Linked DNA regions of Homo sapiens: regions 1, 2, 4, 5, 6 and 7 are each linked to region 3. Evidence: promoter capture Hi-C in 16 types of primary human blood cells and fetal thymus (Javierre and others, 2016). All regions are on one chromosome and are shown on one strand. Each heading gives the region's core, a stretch centred on a gene start or on the middle of the fragment in contact. The rest is flanking DNA. Distances are from core to core; before and after follow the strand shown. Region 1 overlaps THEMIS (thymocyte selection associated). Region 2 overlaps THEMIS (thymocyte selection associated). Region 3 holds the start of PTPRK (protein tyrosine phosphatase receptor type K). Region 4 overlaps THEMIS (thymocyte selection associated). Region 5 overlaps THEMIS (thymocyte selection associated). Region 6 overlaps THEMIS (thymocyte selection associated). Region 7 overlaps THEMIS (thymocyte selection associated).

The links. The method cuts DNA at HindIII sites, captures the fragments that hold promoters and counts their contacts. A CHiCAGO score of 5 or more calls a contact.
Region 1: a fragment that was not itself captured here is called in contact with the fragment with the promoter of PTPRK in region 3 in 4 of 17 cell types (fetal thymus, naive CD4 T cells, naive CD8 T cells and 1 more); the score reaches 7.6 in fetal thymus.
Region 2: a contact is called between a fragment that was not itself captured here and the fragment with the promoter of PTPRK in region 3, in 10 of 17 cell types (fetal thymus, naive CD4 T cells, naive CD8 T cells and 7 more). The highest score is 21.0, in fetal thymus.
Region 4: a contact is called between a fragment that was not itself captured here and the fragment with the promoter of PTPRK in region 3, in 7 of 17 cell types (fetal thymus, naive CD8 T cells, total CD8 T cells and 4 more). The highest score is 15.1, in fetal thymus.
Region 5: a fragment that was not itself captured here is called in contact with the fragment with the promoter of PTPRK in region 3 in 7 of 17 cell types (fetal thymus, naive CD8 T cells, total CD4 T cells and 4 more); the score reaches 10.8 in fetal thymus.
Region 6: a contact is called between a fragment that was not itself captured here and the fragment with the promoter of PTPRK in region 3, in 1 of 17 cell types (fetal thymus). The highest score is 10.1, in fetal thymus.
Region 7: a contact is called between a fragment that was not itself captured here and the fragment with the promoter of PTPRK in region 3, in 5 of 17 cell types (fetal thymus, naive CD8 T cells, non-activated CD4 T cells and 2 more). The highest score is 9.1, in fetal thymus.

Annotation. Positions count from the first base shown.
Region 1 is chr6:127,757,343-127,760,042 of GRCh38, reverse strand. The region is part of intron 4 of THEMIS (thymocyte selection associated); the gene reads left to right. Among named protein-coding and RNA genes, the nearest start is that of LINC02536, 95 kb to the right of the region's middle. The HindIII fragment of the contact is 4,314 bases long and covers 1-2,700 here.
Region 2 is chr6:127,739,782-127,742,517 of GRCh38, reverse strand. The region is part of intron 4 of THEMIS (thymocyte selection associated); the gene reads left to right. Among named protein-coding and RNA genes, the nearest start is that of LINC02536, 77 kb to the right of the region's middle. The HindIII fragment of the contact is 308 bases long and covers 1,314-1,621 here.
Region 3 is chr6:128,519,309-128,522,008 of GRCh38, reverse strand. It overlaps PTPRK (protein tyrosine phosphatase receptor type K), which reads left to right and starts at 1,410. Exons shown (of 30, transcript NM_002844.4): 1 at 1,410-1,750. The coding sequence starts at 1,651. RefSeq lists enhancers at 1,048-1,642, 1,643-2,236. The HindIII fragment of the contact is 3,706 bases long and covers 1-1,951 here.
Region 4 is chr6:127,786,063-127,788,762 of GRCh38, reverse strand. The region is part of intron 4 of THEMIS (thymocyte selection associated); the gene reads left to right. Among named protein-coding and RNA genes, the nearest start is that of THEMIS, 110 kb to the left of the region's middle. The HindIII fragment of the contact is 2,130 bases long and covers 337-2,466 here.
Region 5 is chr6:127,705,600-127,708,364 of GRCh38, reverse strand. It overlaps THEMIS (thymocyte selection associated), which reads left to right. Exons shown (of 6, transcript NM_001010923.3): 6 at 1-165. Among named protein-coding and RNA genes, the nearest start is that of LINC02536, 43 kb to the right of the region's middle. The HindIII fragment of the contact is 3,320 bases long and covers 1-2,765 here.
Region 6 is chr6:127,807,327-127,810,026 of GRCh38, reverse strand. All of the region lies in intron 4 of THEMIS (thymocyte selection associated), which reads left to right. Among named protein-coding and RNA genes, the nearest start is that of THEMIS, 92 kb to the left of the region's middle. The HindIII fragment of the contact is 4,715 bases long and covers 1-2,700 here.
Region 7 is chr6:127,834,509-127,837,208 of GRCh38, reverse strand. All of the region lies in intron 2 of THEMIS (thymocyte selection associated), which reads left to right. Among named protein-coding and RNA genes, the nearest start is that of THEMIS, 65 kb to the left of the region's middle. The HindIII fragment of the contact is 1,969 bases long and covers 358-2,326 here.

The sequences.
Region 1 (2,700 bases), core at 118-2,617, 760 kb after region 3:
CAAAATGAATGAGAAACTTAGACATAAGACTTGACACTGTAAAAATCATAGGGTTTTCAGTTGGGAAGCTACATAATCTAATTTACATTTCAGAATGATCCCTTTGGTTACCCTATGAACAAGAGATTATAAAGGGATCAAGAGAAAGAAAGAGAGAGAGAGAGGAAGGAAGGAAGGAAGGAAGGAGGGAGGGAGGGAGGGAGGGAGGGAGGGAAGGAGGGAAGGAATGAGGAAAGGAGGGAAAGAAAGGAGGGAAGGAAGGAAGGAAAGAAGGAAGAAAGAAGAAAAGGAAAATAAACAACATACGAAAAACCTTTTAAATAATCCTGTGAAGAGGGAGTGGTGACTTGGACTAGGGATGTAGCGATAGATGTGATGAGATGTGGTTACATGCTGGATGTGTTTGAAGACAGAGTCAACGTAATTCAATGATGAATATATGTGAGATAAAGTGTTAAGGTTGACTCTAAGGTTATTAACATGTGCAGCTGGGAGAACAAATTTTCCACTTACTGCGATGAGGAAGACTGGTGTGGAAATATGTTTGAGGAGAAGTGAATAATTAAGTTTTGGAAATATTAAATTTGAAATTAAACATTCATACCCTTTGAACACCCAACTTCACCCCTTGGAGGGTAGTTGAATATATTCAATTTATATGAGTCCAGTGATTAGGGAAGAGGTTACAGTCAGAGATGTATATTTTGGTGTCATCAGCCTACATATTTGTGAATATGGACTGAGCAAACCTCAAAATTTACCTATAAGTGTTATTCATTGATTAATTTGCTTAACATTTTTGAGAGCATTGTGCTGTGTTCTAAAAGTTTAGTATATGCAATTTTCTTATAATCAAGCATCTTTATTTAAAAGTATTACTTCATTCCCCTGTATAAATTTATGCTTAAATAGCAAACTCCTCTTCTTTACTAATTAAAATAAAGGTACTCTTCTTGAGTTCTGAAAACACAACCAATTTCTGTATGTAATACACAGCCATTTCAAAATAGAATATCTAATATGACTGTCTTGTAATATAATTCTTTCCAGACTTCTTGACATGTCTAGCATTGAGTTCTGCTGGTTAACTATTTTGTAAGTTCATAAATTGTGCATAATACTGCACCAATTACCTAAGTAACTGGCTTAAATTACACAATTTTGGACTCAAAAGTCTTGTAAACTTTTATTATAATTCTGATTGTGTTACTTGCCCAACAAAGAAACAGTTTCTTTTTCACAAAATGATCCAATAATTCTTTCTTTCTTTCATGTGATTACCTGTATCACCTGTAGTTCGTTTATTCTTCTACATACTCTAAACATTTTTGTATTAAATCACACAATTAGAAATCTTGATATGCATACACATATTTATATAGTTGCCTTCTTGTGAAAGATCTTTTACTTTTTTCAACTTTAATGTTACACCTTTAGCTTACATTAAGTCACTTTTTTATCTTTCTGCTATAGGGAATTTGACATTTCTGCCTTTCTTTTTCCATTCAAGACATATTTCATTCAAGAAATATGTATTGGGCACCTATGAGGCATTAGGGCTATTCTTTTACTGTAGTATTAAATATTTATAATATATATTATATATGTTATATATATAATATATATTTATTATAAGGTAATTGTTAAGGAATGGGTTTTTCATTATTACAAGGTATTTTCATAAATTCTTCCAGTTAAGCCATGTTTCTCTAAGAAATTGATCCGTTTGTGGGTTTAAGTGTAGAAATTGATTATGTATTTCCTCTTTTGGGATACTAGGAAGTTCAGAACCCAATTTACAGTCCAACTCTATCAACCATAAAACATCTTATGATTTGATATTTGTATACTCCCTCCTTTTAAATTACATCTTATTTTTATTCTATTCTTAATTCTTTATTTTTGTAATCTGTTAATTTTATGTATAATTTTTAACCAGTTCAAATCTCTTTTGTTATGAACATGTATAAGTATATAAATATATATTGTTATATACATATATGTGTATTTGTATATAACATATATCTATGTGTGTGGGTGTGTGTATATATACATATTCGTATGTGAATATAATTTATCTATCTATATTTATGTATGTATGTACCTATCAATCTATAGAGAATAATTATTGTCTAAATATGTACTGCCCTTTATTACCTGATCGCTCTCTACCAGGTAATTCCTGAAGATAATATTCTTAGCTATACTGATATTAGACTTGTCTATATGACTTGACTTGGCCAATAAAATGTGATATATGGGCCGGGCATGGTGGTTCATGCCTGTAATCCCAGCACTTTGGGAGGCCGAGGCGGGCCAATCACGAGGTCAGGAGATCGAGACCATCCTGGCTAACAAGGTGAAACCCCGTCTCTACTAAAAAATACGAAAATCTAGCCGGGCGTGGTGGCGGGCGCCTGTAGTCCCAGCTAATCGGGAGGCTGAGGCAGGAGAATGGCGTGAACCCGGGAGGCAGAGCTTGCAGTGAGCCGAGATAGCGCCACTGCACTCCAGCCTGGGCGACAAAGCGAGACTCCGTCTCAAAAAAGAAAAAAAAAAAAGTGACATGTGTGACATGTATCACTTTCACTTACATATATATATATGTAAATATAGTCTACGTCTATAGCTATCTGCCATTTATGTATGCACGGGTGAATTAAATTCTTTTTACATATAAAGTACTTAAACATATTAGTA
Region 2 (2,736 bases), core at 218-2,717, 780 kb after region 3:
TGGGTTGCTTCCACATTTTAGCTGTTGTGAATAATACTACTGTGAACATTAGTTACAAATATCTGTTAGAGTCTCTGCTTTTAGGTTTTTTTTAAATATACATAAGCAGAAGCAGAGTTACTACATCATTTGGTGATTCTATCTTTGTTTTGTTTTGTTTTTTTGTTTTTTTGTTTGTTTTTTTGTTTGTTTTTTTTTTTTTTTAAGCAGAGTCTCACTCTGTCACTCAGGCTGGAGTGCAGTGGCATGATCTCCGCTCACTGCAACCTCTGCCTCCTGGGTTCAAGTGATTCTCTTGCCTCAGCCTCCCAAGTAGCTGGGACTACAGGCACACACCACCATGCCCAGCTAATCTTTTTGCATTTTTTGATAGAGACGGGGTTTCACCATGTTGGCCAGGCTGTCCTCAAAACTCCTGACATCAGGTGATCTGCCTACCTCAGCCTCTCAAATTGCTGGGATTACAGGTGTGAGCCACCATACTCAGCCTGGTGATTCTGTGTTTAATTTCTTGACAGACCTTCATACTGTTTTCCACAATGGCTCATATCCTCCTTGCCCACTCTCCCTGTATTTCATGTGATCCTCTTGACTGTTCCACCTAGAATGTGTTTAAATTGTTTTCACTTGTTCTGTAGCAATATCTTTTATCATTTTCGCTACTGCCAGTTGCTTGGGACCAACTGTCACCTAATGGATTTTAATGGTTCCTTCTCTTATATCTAGCCTGAGCAGCCTCATGTAACCTTGACCCATTATTTTGGCCAGCCAGTAGCTGTTACTCTTATATTGCAGATTAAGAAATTAATTTGATCTCTGTTATGAGAATAAGCTGATGCAGCAAAGGATTTACTGAAAGGCAGTGTAACCATAAATGACTTCCACAGGTCACTTAGATAACTGAAGAAATCAAAGTTTCTAAATACCTAGTTGAACACTTTCTGCTGTGCGTCTGGATTTTTGTGTGCTTCAAACCTTAATTCATTCTGAAGCTGTCATATATCCTTAGTCGGTTTATTCTCCTCCTTTGGTTTATTTTTGCATCTTTATTTTGTTATGGAGTGTGGTACATAATATATCTAGCAATTTTTTCCTCCTTCTATGATTCTAAGTCTATAATATTGCAAATAAAATTTGATAAGCAACATCAAACAATGCTGTTCTATCAGCTATTTTCAAGATCAGAAGAGACATCAAGAAAAATAAAAATAATTATTTAATTTTAAATGAGGTACACACCATTATTTGACCCTTAAAAGTTATTGAAAATGCACCAGAAAACTTAACATCAAGTTTAAAGGAAATGGTAAGCTTACGCATAGGTTTATAACTTATGGGTTGTGAACTGCTAGCTTTTGCTGCTTCTGTGCCTATAAACCACATATTTGCTGAGAAATAGTAAAGTTGGATACTATGTTTGAATATTTAAAACAGAATTTCCTACAGAGCTACAGTATTTGTAGGGTTTTACTGGGTTCTAATAGATGTTATCTATAAAATTTAAGTACTTTTCAGGTGTGGGGAAGTAAATGTGCAAATGTTTCTCTGTGTATGATGGAGGGTAAGAGAGAAGTGGAAATATTTTCAAACATTATTACAAGAGCAAAATTTTTAAGAAGCTTTTTGAATTTTAGAGCACTTACTGGTAATATAAAAAATATATGTCACAAAATGTCCCCTAAATTTTTATTTCTTTTTACTTAAGAAAAGATAGTAGTAAGTGGTTTATAGTTTATATAGCGGAGTTCTAGTGACTCGTAAATGCTCTCTGGAGGTATAATGCTATGTTCATCACAGATTGCTTGAATATATAAATTCTCTTCTTCTCCACAGCTATTTGTAAGCACATACTAGCTTTATTTTCGGATAGCTAAAGAAAAAAATGGCCGTTATTTACGTTCTCATGTCGTCCAAAGCATGTCAGCAAAACAAGCCTGGACTTATATATGGTCACCCTTTTTGATGACATTGGGAAGTTTCAGGCCAGTTAAGAACCACTTTCAGGAGAACCAGTTGGACTGACTATGCAGTTGAGTTTGATTAAATCACATTTGTTGCATTTTAAAAATAATCACAGTTTGAATTTTACATCCAATAAAGTTTTTTTTAGCAACATTTAAATCCACTAGAGGCTATCTACCAGGGGTCACAAACGGGTAACTTCAGCCATAGAATCAGTCACAAATATGATCCTTAGTTTTTTCTCCATTCTCTATCTTGAGTCCTGCTTCATGGGCTCTGAAGGTGTTTGAGTTTCCAGCACTTAATTTCACGGGGATTTTAAATGATTTTAAATGTCCTTTGTTCCCACCTGCCCAGAAAAGACCTACAAAGCAGGAAAAAAAAATCAATTAGGTTCCTGTTGCCACTGCTCTAATTAATTTCCTCCTTCTTTCCCTGGAGGAATCAGGGGAGAATTATTTCTACCTCAAGGTCCAGGGCTCTCTTCTCCAATGGCTCTTTTCCAACCCTGTCCTTACATGCCCGTGGGTACAGCCAGAGATGATTCTGGAGAAAATTGACATGGGCACTGGCCAATCAGAGCCCAGTTATTGAGAATGGATGCATGTCTGCTCTTCAACAGTGCACGCCAGCGAATGTCAGCCCTGCAGTTAATGGTATTAAGAACCACTCTGTATTTTTGACTATTCATAGTGGAACCTTAGACAGGAATATCAGAAAAGTAGCAAATTGCGGATTCATACCAAATCTCATTTAAGTGACATGCTTGCCACG
Region 3 (2,700 bases), core at 161-2,660:
TGAACTTAACTATGCTGAACTGAATTGACAAGGGTTGAGCTAGTCAGTGTGCTAATGAGCAGGCTACTATTCTCATAGAATTTTTAAAAGTCTTTTCTGCCTGATATGTATGTGTGTATAATATGTATTTATATATGTATATATTTGTGTGTATATTTATTACATTTTTGTTTCCACAGGCTCTGTCATAAGTCTGGTCATTAATAGCATATATTTGATTAAAAGAATATGTGGCTTGGTAAATTATGTGAATGTTATATTAAAATGAATTTCACATTGTCTTGATTTACAAAGGCTAAGATGTCTGAGAAACTGAGAGATGTCAATCAACAGACTATTGTTTTAGCAATTGTACATAACACATAAAAATTCTGAATCAAAGTTATTATGTTATTCAATTGTGACCATACCTATTTTTTGTGACATTTTACAAAAATGAATAAAGTATGCACCATACAGTCTTACCACAGAAGTAAGGCAGGGTGGCATATGGCGAAACCACTTCAAGCTGCTGAAGTAGTTAACTGTGAAATATTTTACTGTCATAATATAGCATTATTTTCTGCCAGATGAATCATTCCGAAGAAGCTGTTTTCATGGTCAGTGTAAAAGTCCTTTTGTTAAATACTTATGTCTTAACTACCTACTAGATATTAAAAAAAACAAAACCACACACACACCAGACCTAGGTGCAAGGAAGGGATAATAAGCCCTGATGCAGTTCTTAGGTGAGAACTGGAAAGGGGCCGGAGGGTTTCAGAGCAACAAGCAAAGTCAGTGAAGCAGAGTAAATCCAAATACTTGGCCAATGACAAATAAACCAGAAAGGAGACACGCCAGCTGTTCACGCTGGAAAGTTACTGATCGTTTATTCTGGTTCAAGTTTTATTTATTCTATGAATAAGGGACAAGTTTTCGATGGGGGTGGGGTGTCTTATTCCTTATTACAAGAATAAGGAACGGGGAGTTTTCAAGGCAGGCGGGTGTTTCCTCAGGGCGCTTCCACACTCCCCTTTCAATCAGCAACCGCTCGGGGGGACCTCCACCTTGGGACGGAACCCCAGGACGCCTCTCCTCGGACGGCGGGGGTTTCTCTGCGCGCGTCCTCGGTCGTCTGGTCGCACGGCTTACCGAACTCTCGCCTCTCAAATTCTGAGTTCTGGAACAGGGCAGCGAGCTGCGCCGGCTCCCCTTTCTCGCTCGCTCCCTCCGAGCAGCGGCTGGCGGCGGGGCCCAGGCTGCGAACAAAGGCGGCGCGGGGCGCGCGGCCGGGGCTGGCGCGCGTCTCTCCGGCAGGAGGCGGTGGCGGCGCCGCGCCCGAGCCCGCATTCCTCAGAAGCGCCCGGAGCCCGCGGGGCGACGTCACCCCCGGCTCCGCCCCCGTCCCTCCCCGAGCAAAGTAACTCTTGACTAACAGGAGCAGCCTCCGCCGAGCATGGAGAGCTGCCGCCGCGGCCGGCCGGCGACGCTGGCGACGCTTTCGCCCCTGAGGTAGTTTGGCGACCGCGAAGAAGGAAAAAGGGCGGGCGGGCGGCTGTCCTCTCACCGTCCTCACCCCGCGAGGCCCGGCCCGCTCCTCCGTCGTGGATTTCGCGGCGATCCCCCCGGCAGCTCTTTGCAAAGCTGCTTGAAACTTCTCCCAAACTCGGCATGGATACGACTGCGGCGGCGGCGCTGCCTGCTTTTGTGGCGCTCTTGCTCCTCTCTCCTTGGCCTCTCCTGGGATCGGCCCAAGGCCAGTTCTCCGCAGGTGAGTGGCCGGGGGGCGTCCCCGACGAACGCCTGGAGTCCTGGGCTCACGAGGGGTGAGCCAGGTCCCCGCTAGGGCTGGGGACAAGGATCGTGGGGAGCTCTCTCTGTCCGGGGGTGGGGAACACAGGGTAGAGGGAGGGCTGTCCCCAGAGTTCGTGCCAGGTGGGACGCGGGGCACCCATTGTTCCTCTCCGAAGCTTGCTCGGGGCTCAGGCTGGCACGGTCTAGCCGGAGAGTGTGGGGACCTGCTGGCTTCGGCGTCTCGCGTGGCCTGCGCCGGGCTAGTGGGGAAGAGAGAAAGAAAAAGTAGTTACGACTCCCGTGACGGCACTCTGTTGCTTGTGGTGCGGGTTTGTTGCTGTCTGCCACTTGGGTGTTTAAACAAATTCCCTGGGAAGCCATTGTCAGAAATGTGGAGATTCGAAGGGACTGACCTCGGCGCGCTTTGCCAGGTGCTTTTTGTCCCGGGAATAACCTCCCCTGACTATTGTCTAACTACTTCCCCGTCCCTCCCGGAGTCCCCTTTTCTCCTCCCCCAGCTCTGGGTTGCTCCCGGGCTTGCCCTGTGCGCTCGGGCACTGCTTGGAGCATGTTCTGTGTGTGTGTTGGCGGAGCCCTGTAAGATGTGTTGAAATGCGGTTCTAAGGACCCACTCTGAGCGTTCATGGGCATCGAGGTCTGGGCGCCTGGTGGAGGAAGCCTGACTCGCGCGTGGGAGCCCGCTCCTCGGGCAAAACCACCGCCAGGCTGGCCCCGCGCTCCCCGGATCCGGCCTGGGGCTCTGGCCCCGCGCTCCCCGGATCCGGCCTGGGGCTGGAAGCGGACTGTAAATGTCTGCCTTCTGCCGGAGAACCCAAAAGGAGACAAGTGGAGCGTCTCGCTGTAGCCCTGGGGGTTCTCGGTCAAGCCGCTCAGAGAAGTCCGTGAACCCTGGCTCTCCCGGTCCCG
Region 4 (2,700 bases), core at 152-2,651, 730 kb after region 3:
TAAATGAAATAGCCTTGTCTGAGTAGAATTTATACACTGTAATAATGTATTGCCTCTTTAATGATGAAAGAAATAATCTCTGCTGATGTGATCATTTTTGTTGTGCCTTTTCAAGAAAATATATGGGGCTAAAATGTTAAAATAACTTATTTTCAAGTAGAGTACTATAATCTGAAAATACAATTGAGTACCTTCTTACTGTCCGTAAATGAATACTCTCAAAAGTTCTGATAGTTTTAATTAAGGTAATAATTATGAATGTCATTCATTTGTTTAATGAAAATGTCAATATTGGCAAATAAAGCATTTTAATTTTTTCCTGTGGGATAAGAAGCTTCCTTTGTATTCATCCCTCAACCTTTCATTATTCAATACCAAAAGCTGTAGAGTAAATCAGGGAAAGTCACTAGGTTGGTGTCAATCCCTGGATTTGATTATTGAGAGGCAATTCTCCATGAAATATTTTCAGATTACCACACAGTCCAATCTTTTTGAGGAAAGACCACTGGCAAACTTGGTTAAAGTAGGGTTGAATAGCAAATGTATCTTGGAAGATAGAGATAGTAGGTTGCTTCAGAGAGGTTTAGAGACGTCTCCCCTGTAAACATTTGCTAACATCGCAAAATAAAAGACTCTCCCTCACCTGAGGAAAGGATGGGTCAATGTGCCAGCCAAACTCCAAGTGTCATAGTTTGTGAGTCCATGGTGGTATACTCAACTCTTGTCTGTGCAGGATAACATTAGTCTCTCATAGCCTTCTCAGTGCTAAGATGCTCTGTGAATATTCAACTATCTGTTTTCTAATCTAGACACTTTGTGTTTATTACCAGAAGAGCATCTATTTATCTATCTATCTATCTATCTATCTATCTATCTATCTATATCTATCTATCTATCTATCTATCTATCTATATCTGTCTATCTCTATCTATCTATCTATCTATCTATCTATCTATCTACCTATCACTGTGGCAGGCTGACTTTTTAGCTTATAAATATAGTTAGTAGACTTAATTTTAGATAATACAGATGTCATTCCTTTATTAACCTCATGCCATGCTGATGTTTGTAATGATGAGAAACGAGAATCATTTTATGGTATCGTTTATCAAGATATTGTATATATCATGTGTTCTCTATGATACATTCAAAAAACAGATCCCAGTAATAATATGTTTACAGTATGGAGTTCTTTACACACACATACTTTCAGGACAGTTGAGATAGAGAGATAAAAGCATTTCCCTGGTGCCAGTGGTAGGTTTGAATTTCTTTGAAACATATCAAGATAAGGTGATGCCATGCAAAGAACATGGTGACATGGGTGCAGCAGAGTGTCAGCTAGGAGCAGACTAGATTCATCTTGGCGGACCTAGTGGACTAGTGATATCTGAGGCCTTTTATGTGCATGAGTAGATCTATGCAAGTTTTCCAGCTAAAGGAAGAAGGTGATGTGTGCATGTGTTTGTGTGTGTGTGTGTGTGTGCGTGCACACATGTGCATGCTAGAGTGCAGGAAAGAGACAAAGATAAACAGGAAAGTTGGGAAAATTTAGAATATATTAAAAAAAACCCTATATCTTGCTTCCTGTTTGCCACAATTAGCATCACAGCCTCTGGAAGATGCAATGGTTAATAATTGCTGCTGATTCTTTGATATGGCTTTTCCTGGGGACAGTAGGGAGTCAGCTTGAGTAAAGACAAATCCTAGAAAGGGTGCTTTTTCAGGGAGATTCCTAACAGCTAACATAGTGGCAATGCTCTTGGAATCGAGTTTTTTTAGGAGCTCCAAACCCAGTGTCCCCCTCTTTGGTGGTTGCAAAGTTGCTTTTTCTCACAGCTACTGTGATTGCAAGGCTGCTGGTTTTCAAGTCTGTCATGCAGCTGAGAAGAATTGCTATAGGACAATTCAAAACGTCACAAAGCTCACATTCTTATCAAGATTTAGTCACTTTTCTTAAAAAAAAGATTTCTTTTTCGTTAATTTCTAGAGTTCTGCAAAAGTTGATTCTGACAAATTTTGCTAGTGGTCATTGCCTTTATGCTGAAATAGATTTTCAGAAGTCCTTAGCCTGCCATTTCTAACTGTTGGTCTTGGGCAAATTATTTAATCTCCCTTTTTCTCAATTTTCTAGTTCATAAAACAAGCATAGTAACATGCCCTAGAGAATTGTTGTGAGGCTTAAGAAAGCTCATTCAAGAAAACCACTTAGAATAGTACTTGGTACCTAATGAATACTCAACCAACACTGGCTGTCAGTATCAGTATATTCATTTTAAATACTTAAGTTTAGATATAAACAAACCTACCTTTTATTTTTCCCAAATTTTGGTTCTATGCTCACTTTTTATTTTTCTGAATTGGTTTATCTGGCTACAAAGTTTTACAGATTCTATTTCACAACGTTTCAGACCATAGCAGTTGATAATGTTTTACATTCCATTACACAGACTATTCCCTGAAGCTTTTTGGAACAATAACAGATGGCCAAGCTGTTGAAGATATTATGATTCTACTTACTGTTCAAATATGTAGGCTAGAACAGGGTAATTTTGCTTTCTGTTACCTGAGAAAAATAAGAATGCCACATTTATTTATGTACTTTTATCCATGTGGTTTATAAAATTTCACTTTTTGAGAGGATTGTCCCAGGGTGCAAATAGTGCAAAATATCTTATTGAATACCTAGAGCTATCAAAG
Region 5 (2,765 bases), core at 14-2,513, 810 kb after region 3:
TGTAAATTATCAAGGGCTTTCTAATAGAAATCATATATAACATTTCTAAATATAAGTCCTTTCACATACTGTGTTTCCAGTTGTCTTGATATTGAAAAGTGTAATAAACTTCATGCTCACCTATTGGAGATTTGGGAAGGTTGAAAATAAACTTCCTAATTTTTATTTGTATGTGTTCTCTTCTATGTTTAACTCTAGAATAACTATCTTCCTGTAACGATTAAGTTAAAATATTCTTTAACTAGAATTGAAATAAATTGTTCACTAAGGAGGGGGCTGCTTGTGCTAAAAAAGCCATGAGGAGGGAGATTGTCCTCCCTGCCCTCTCCATCCCCTATGGACTTACAGTGCTGAGCTCAGTCATAATGACCAAATTTCACAGCATGGCCAAGCTGCATAGATAGGTGCCAAAACTACCAATTATTAATATTGGCCTCTTCCTAATTGAATCAGTCAAGCAGTTTTGGAAAAGGCTGTCAGAAAGGAGTGAGAAATGGAAAGAGGAAAATGTGATTGTTGAGATGGGCTAGCTCAACTCTTACATCCAGGATTTTAATAGAAAAACTCTTTAAGATTAGAGTCAACATATAATGAGACTTTTAGGTGTTTAACCAAAGGTTCTTGGTTCAAGTTGCCTCTAAAAGGAAGATGATAACATGTAAAACGCTGGGGAGAGTCAGAATTAGGATCTAATTATAACCCCGGTAGGCTGGACTACTAAAAATGAAATCCAATAGAATAAAAATATTCTTTTGATTTTACCATGAAAATATTTCCACAACTATAACACTTCTGACTGCTTCTACTTCTACTGCTGTGGTCCAAACTTCAGTCATCTCTGTTGGATTATTGCAAAAACCCTGTAACAATTCTTCCTGTTCCTGCCCTTGCTACCTATCAATCTATTCTGATTGTGAGAACCAGAATGATCTCATTAAAATATGTGCTATTATTACACACCACAGTCATGTCCTACCTCATTCAGAGTAAAAGCCAAAATTCCTAAAATGATCTAGAAAGGTGTGCACAATACATTCCCATTCTCTCTCTGTACTCTTCCTATTCGTTTTGCTCAAGTCATGCTGACCTTCCCATTTGATATGGTTTGGATGTGTCCCCATCTAAATCTCGTCTTGAATTGTAGTTCCCATAATCCCCATGTGTCATGGGAGGGACCTGGTGGGAGGTAATTGAGTCATGGGGACAGTTTCCCCCATGCTGTTCCCCTGATAGTGAGTGAGTTCTCATGAGATCTGATGGCTTTTATAAAGGCTTTTTCCACTTTTGCTTGGCACTTCTTGCTGCCACCATGTGAAGAAGGACGTGTTTGCTTCCCCTTCTGCCATGATTATAAATTTCCTGAGGCCTCCCCAGCCATGCTGAACTGTGAGTCAATTAAACCTATTTCCTTTATAAATTACCCAGTCTTGGGTATACCTTTATTAGCAGTGTAAGAATGGACTAATACACCATTATTCATCAACCATGCCAGGGCTATTCCTACCCTGAGGCCTTTGCATTTGCTGTTCTCCCTGCCTGGAACACTTTTTGCTCTCCTCTCCACACAGGTCACTCCCTTACTTCCTTTAGGCTTTATCCACATATTACCTTCTCAATGTGCCTTGCTCTGGCCACCCTATCTCAAACTGTAACCTCAACTCTTATTGGTCTTTCTATCTCCTTCCCTGCCTTAATTTTCTCCATAATAGTTTATTCTATCTAACAAGCTATATCTTTTACATGTCTTGTTTCTTTTCTGTCTCCTTTACACTAGACTGTAAACCCCCTGAAGGCAGGATTTCTTATTGGTTTCTGCACTACACCCAGACACTTAGAATAGTGTCTGGCATATATCTGGCACTCAATATGTGTTTGCTGAATGAACTGATTAAAGTTAGGAATATGAGAACTCAAGCCAGACTGCCCAGGTCTGAATACTGACTCCCTGTTTACTGGGTTGCCTTGGATAAGTTTGTGAGCCTCCTTCTGCTTCAAATTCCTACATATATGTAAAATAGGGACTAAAATAGACTCTACATTGTAGAGTTGTTGTGATAATTTGATGAATGTATAGATGTAAAGTGCTTGGAGCTTTGTCTGAGAAAAAGTAAGTCCTCAATGCATTTATGTGTTTTTATTTTATAATATATATATGTTCTAAATTATATATAAAATATTACATCAAGGTTTTTTAGTTTTGGAGTCTTGCATCTTTTCTTCTTTGAGTTTTCTTTCTTTCCCACTTCCACTCTTATGTGCCATGACAAATACTCATCTAGTCCTTGTTATCTTAGCTCAGGTTCCCTAGAAGCACAGGTTAAGGGGGAAGATACTCGTTCAGTGGTTTATTGGAGTGTTCTTAGGAGAAATCTGTATGGAAGTGGAAGAAGTCAGCAGGATAGGAGAAGGATCTAGATAAATACATGGTTTCATAAGAACTCCAACCTAATCTTTCCAGCCTGATCCTAAGGGTACCCTGGAGCATGGATTATACTACTGTGTTGATCCCTCAGCTGAACCTTCAAAAATTTGTTCCAAATCCAAGAGGCCAGCAGGTTCCAAATTGTGTACCCTATGATACAACAAATGAGTCCCATAGGTATATCCCACTGTTGCATCTCCCTTGTGACAAATTGTGTCACCTGGTCTGAGATGATATTACACAGGATATCATGTTGGGAGAACAGAAATTCTGTGACCCCTCTGTGGCGGTGCTGGCTGAGGCACTGTGGAAAGGAAAAGTAAACTAATACCTGGAGTATATT
Region 6 (2,700 bases), core at 157-2,656, 710 kb after region 3:
TGTTTTTTTACTGGTCAGACCCCACATGGAGTCTTGGTGTTCAATTCTGAGTCTCACTCTAGAGACTTTTAACTGGAGTTTGTAAGGAGCTGTTAAAGATGTTAAGAGGTTCTGGAGCCATTTTCATTTGAGGAATAGTTGAAGACATTGAGTGATAATCTAAAATTGGAAGACTTGATACTAGATGATATTAGTTATTTTATACATTTAAATAGTTGCTTTGTGGCAGAGTGCAGACTTATATTCCATTATGACATCTTCAACACTGGGTGAAAGTTAAAGGGAGGACAAATTTGGTGTAATATGTTGGAACAGGTTTCTTCTCCCCAAAATGTTTATAGTAGAAGATAGGAAATCATGTCAGTGATATTGTCAGGGAATCCCTGCTTTGGTTGAGAATTTATCAGACAGTTGAGAAGAGTCTACAGTTCTTTGTTTATGAATAGTTCCTTTAATTCTAGTGTGATAGATAAAGCATTATATTTTCTCTGAAATCACTTTAAAATGTCAGAGGATGCTACAATTCACCTGTATTTAGACCTACTAACCTCCTTATTTTCAGCGATTATTTTTTACCATGAAGGCAGGAATCTGCTTAATACATTGTTTATAGAATGTAAACAGAAGCTCTTTCAGTTTCTTCATAATCTACTCCAAAAATTTTGCAAATATTTCTTATTCTCACAAAGTCATCCTTTCATATATTCCTTTTATGTTTCTTTTGATATTTACATGAAGTCTCTTCTATCATGTGTGCTTTTGAAGAACATTTTTTATACTTCATAGGTAGGAATCAGCCATTAAAAAACAGCCTCTAAGATTATGGATTATATATGGAATATTGCTTTAAATTTGGATAACAAATAGTAAGAGTTATTCAGAGTTTAAATATTCAAACTCATTTAGCTCATTAAAATGTGGTTTTACATGCACAGAGAAGAGTCCTAGATGCTTCATTATATGAATTTACTTTTGCCTTCCCAATGGATCATTAACTTTACTAAATCATTTCTTGCATTAAGTAACAGACAGATGTATGGGCAATCTAAGAGTAAGAATCTAAAATTCACCCTGCATTAGCCAAATTAACCTATAGCAGGTATCTGCGGTTGGTTATGAACACTACAAGCTCATCTAAAATGTTTGGAAATTAAGAATATATGAGGACAGGTTACAGGAACTAGGAGAAATAGAAAGAATTGTTTTCCAAGGTAAGATTGGCAACTGTTCTCCAGCTTTAGCAATACCTAAAAAGAAAAAAAAATAGATTGGTGTAGAAACTTTAGAATTATAATTTCAGTTTGGGCAGGGACACGAGTGGGGGTATGGTTACCAACAGGATTATAGCCTACTTCAAGACCTATGAGATTTTATGTGAAATAATATTATAGTTGTTCTTTAAATGTGTTAGTTAACTGTTTATAAGGATAATGTATGGAATCTAAACAAAGGAGTGGGAATAGGCCAGGGGAATCCTCAAAATTTTCTTTAGGTTTATGACATAATGCAGAAATAATGTCTTTAGGATCTGTGCATCTGAATTTTAATCTGATGGAAACAATATTATAAAGTGACTAAATAAATGAAGCTGGGCCTGAAATTGTGTTCTAAATAGAAATGTTGTCAGGTAGATTCTCCTTCCTTGAAGGTTGGTTTGTATGTTAGAAGTGGTTTCAGATAGTTCAGAAGAACATATACTCACTGGGGTTTTTGCCTGTCGTGGATATATATAGCTACGACTCCTGAGTGCCACACAGGAGAAATGCAACTTCTGTATTCTGATGAAAGGGTCTATAACAAGACAGAAAACAAACCTTTGGTTGAAAGATGAGATATTCCATGTCTTCAGAGACTGCAGCTGGGACCAGAAATCTTGTATTTCACTAACTCTGTTTGGCCATTTAATGCCCAAGTGTCCACTTTGCTGCCTGAGTTTCTAGATTTCTGTCGGACAAGAACACCCATAGGAGACATTAAGGCAAAGAGCAAGGGAGGCAGTAATGGCAAGGTACTGTGAAATGAGCAGAAAAAAATCCTGCACCAGAATTAGAGTGAGGGCTGAAAAAGGCAGAAGGAAAGCAATGGTTCCTGGGGAGTGCACAGAGAACACTTCAGCAGCTGCTGCTGGTGCTAAATTGTCACTTCTGATCTGGTTTGACAGTTACAGTGGCTGAAATGTGTTAGAGAAATCCACGTTACTGGGCTAAATCTAGATCATTAGAGAGTAGTATTATACCCACTTGTTTGTTATCAATAGGGTTTGGTCACAAACAATGTGACTTGTTTTTGTTTTTGTTAACCTGATGTAGTATAAATACATTAAGAGTGTTTGAATTTGTAGCTGACTCTGAGCTTCTGAACACTCACACCTTTCTACTCATGGTAGGTCCTTTTCGTGTAATATAGAAGCTGTAGTACTGATTTCCCTCTGAATAGGGAAGATTACTGTTAGAGAGTTTTTCAAAGACCCAACACAATGAAGATAGAATACGGACATATTTAAATATTGGGTTTTTGAATCTGAAAATAAGAGAAATAAAGGAAACTTTTGAACTTCCTTTAAAAAATTGACAAATTTTGACTGTGAGATACAATTTTAGCTTTTTTGACTGTGAGATACAATTTTAGCTTTTTTGACTGTGAGATACAATTTTAGCTTTTTTTTTTTTAATGAATTCTCACTCTGTTGCCTAGGCTGGA
Region 7 (2,700 bases), core at 93-2,592, 680 kb after region 3:
ATGATATGGTAAGTTTTCATCGTTTTCTATCATTTTCTGTGTCTTTTTGTGTATACTTTATATTGGAAGGTCAGGGACGGCCATATCCAGGGCTGCCAGACAGCCAGCATTTAAACTCCTCTTAATCAAACACAAACCTTGGAAAACCCCAATTTGTTTATCTTCAGTGTCTAAAGTGATCAACAATAGCAGCTCCAAATGCTGTGCTCTTTCCTGGAAGTGACTGTCTGGGTCAATCTCTGAATAGTTTTGAGGCAGTTCCATAGGAGTTACTTGCACGAGACCCCCCAGTGCTCTGAAGAAATTCATCTCAGAGCTGTTCAGGTGTTCGTGCTGACCAGGTACCAGGTCAAAGCTTCCAGAGAGGACCGTCAGGGGCCAGTAAGCTCCTGTCCAAGTCAAATCCACTGGGAGAGTTGTGGGTTAGCCAGTTCATGAGCCCAGTGCTGATTTTAGGCAGGATTTTCAAATTCATGCTGTTGAAGTTAGTTTTATTGCCTAGTAATATGGAACCAAAAGAATGTGTTTAGAGAGAAAATGCTCCTTTTTATATACTGGTGAATTTAGAAAAACAAAAATTCAGTTTTCTTTATTGTGCAAATCAAAATCTATTTAAATCCTAAGCCCTGACATTCATTTAATACTTATGGTTACATTGGGAAATTATAGCTCTTTCTAATTTGAATTTAATGTAAACTGATTTTTAATTGTTTTGTATAACCATGGGTAACAGATTTTTTTGAACACTGCATGATAAAAATCAGCAAATATGTCAGACAAAGCACAATGTTACAAGGAAACACCACAGCATATGTTGACAGTTATAGAAGAATTGCTGCTGTTTTCACCCTTCACACCAGAATAATTTCTTCAATATTTACCTCCCATGTGTAGAGAGAGAAACATATGGGGCTTTACATAATCATAAGCATAAACAGGTGGCTACTTAGGTACATTTAATTTGCAGGCAACATCAATACTGAACAACACAATCAGCTCCACATGGCTCCCAAACTCTTTCTACTAACATTCCATTAACAAAATTAAGATCATTAAAATAGAGGGAGGGTATAGTCCTCCCTCAACTGGCTTCAGCTACCTTTCAGAGTCATGAATAAAACACTTTTTCAAAAATGCCTTGGCATTTTGCTGTTTTCTTTGTTCAAGGGAACTTCAGTAACTGTGTATAATGTATACCTTGTGAATAACAACGAGCAGCATAATATTTGCATTTAAAATGTGCTTACATCTTTTATTCTCCCTCTAATCTGCTCATTATGGGCATAAAATTATGATGGTTAAATTCTAAGTAATTTATCAAAGCATGGGGTCGGACAAGCTCCTCAAAGCAACCTGGAAATATTTCTCCAAAGGCAGTCCACCTAAAGAGGTCACCTGAGGCTCATTTCCATATTCAAACATGCTGGTGAAATCTGTGGAAATTATCATTCCTGGAAATTTTTGCTCAATCTGTGCCAGATGCTGAGCTGTAGATTCCATATATTTTGTTATCTCGATTTTGATCCAGGCTAGAATATCTAATTTGTCCTCGTTGGCATTGAAATTACATAGGTACCAATTTTTCTGACCTTATAACCATCCTACAATGGCTTAGAATCCCAGGGTAAAGGCAAATGAGGAGACTTAATAACCACTATGTTTTTAATCATTTGGTGCTTACTAGCTGTTAAGTACTACCTAATCATGTTACCTGTATTAGCTTATTTAATCACCACAATGACTTTATGTGGTAGATGATATAATTTTTCTCATTTTATGAAAAATGAAATTGTAGCCCTGAGACTTTAAATTCTGAAGTATACATGTTAAGGAAGGGGCTGAGGCCAGAATTAAAACCCAGGCTAATAGGAATTGTCAAGCCATAATCTTAACCACCCCACTCTAGTTGTGTTCCCTTTATCCTGAAAGTTCTACTGCCCAAAATCACCTAGGGCCTGGGAATCCTGAAAATTCTACCTAAAATCACCTAGGGCTAGGAACAGCAAATATGTGGTATTGTGAAGATCCTCTTAACAATGCTTTGTGAGAGGTTTGGGGGTGCCTAAGGTCTGTGGAGGTTCTTTCTAGCCCTGATACCTCTATGTGTCTTCTCAAAACACAAGGAACAGTGCTCTGCAGAACTAATGAGCATCTAGGGAGCTGTGTTGCCATCAAGGTTATGAAAATAACAATTTCTCACATTCTCTCTCCTCATCGTAGGTCTATTACTCACTCTCGCTGCCTGGGAGAGAGAAAGTTTTAACATGAACAAGTGTATGTATGACGTGCGGCACATTTATTAATAAGCTGTGACTACAATAAAGCTTTAGGCCTAGATATCAGATTATATCATTTGATCTTAAGAGCTAACATTATTAATATGTAATTTGTTAAGCATCCCAAATGTGTTAGGTTTTGCAGTCACTCCTTTCAAGGAGTTTAAATGTTACTGGGAAAGTTTATTTGTTTTCCCCATGCAATGGTTGAACCAAAGAGGTAAAAATGAATTGAAAGATTTTATGATATATTCTTTTACCTCTGCAGGTAAAAGCAATATGAAAAACTATTAATAGCTACTGCAGACAGTTTCAATTCAATTATTATTATTATTACTATTATTGTTTTGTGATGGAGTCTCACTCTGTTGCCCAGGCTGGAGTGCAGTGACATGTTCTTTGCTCACTACAACCTTCATCTCCT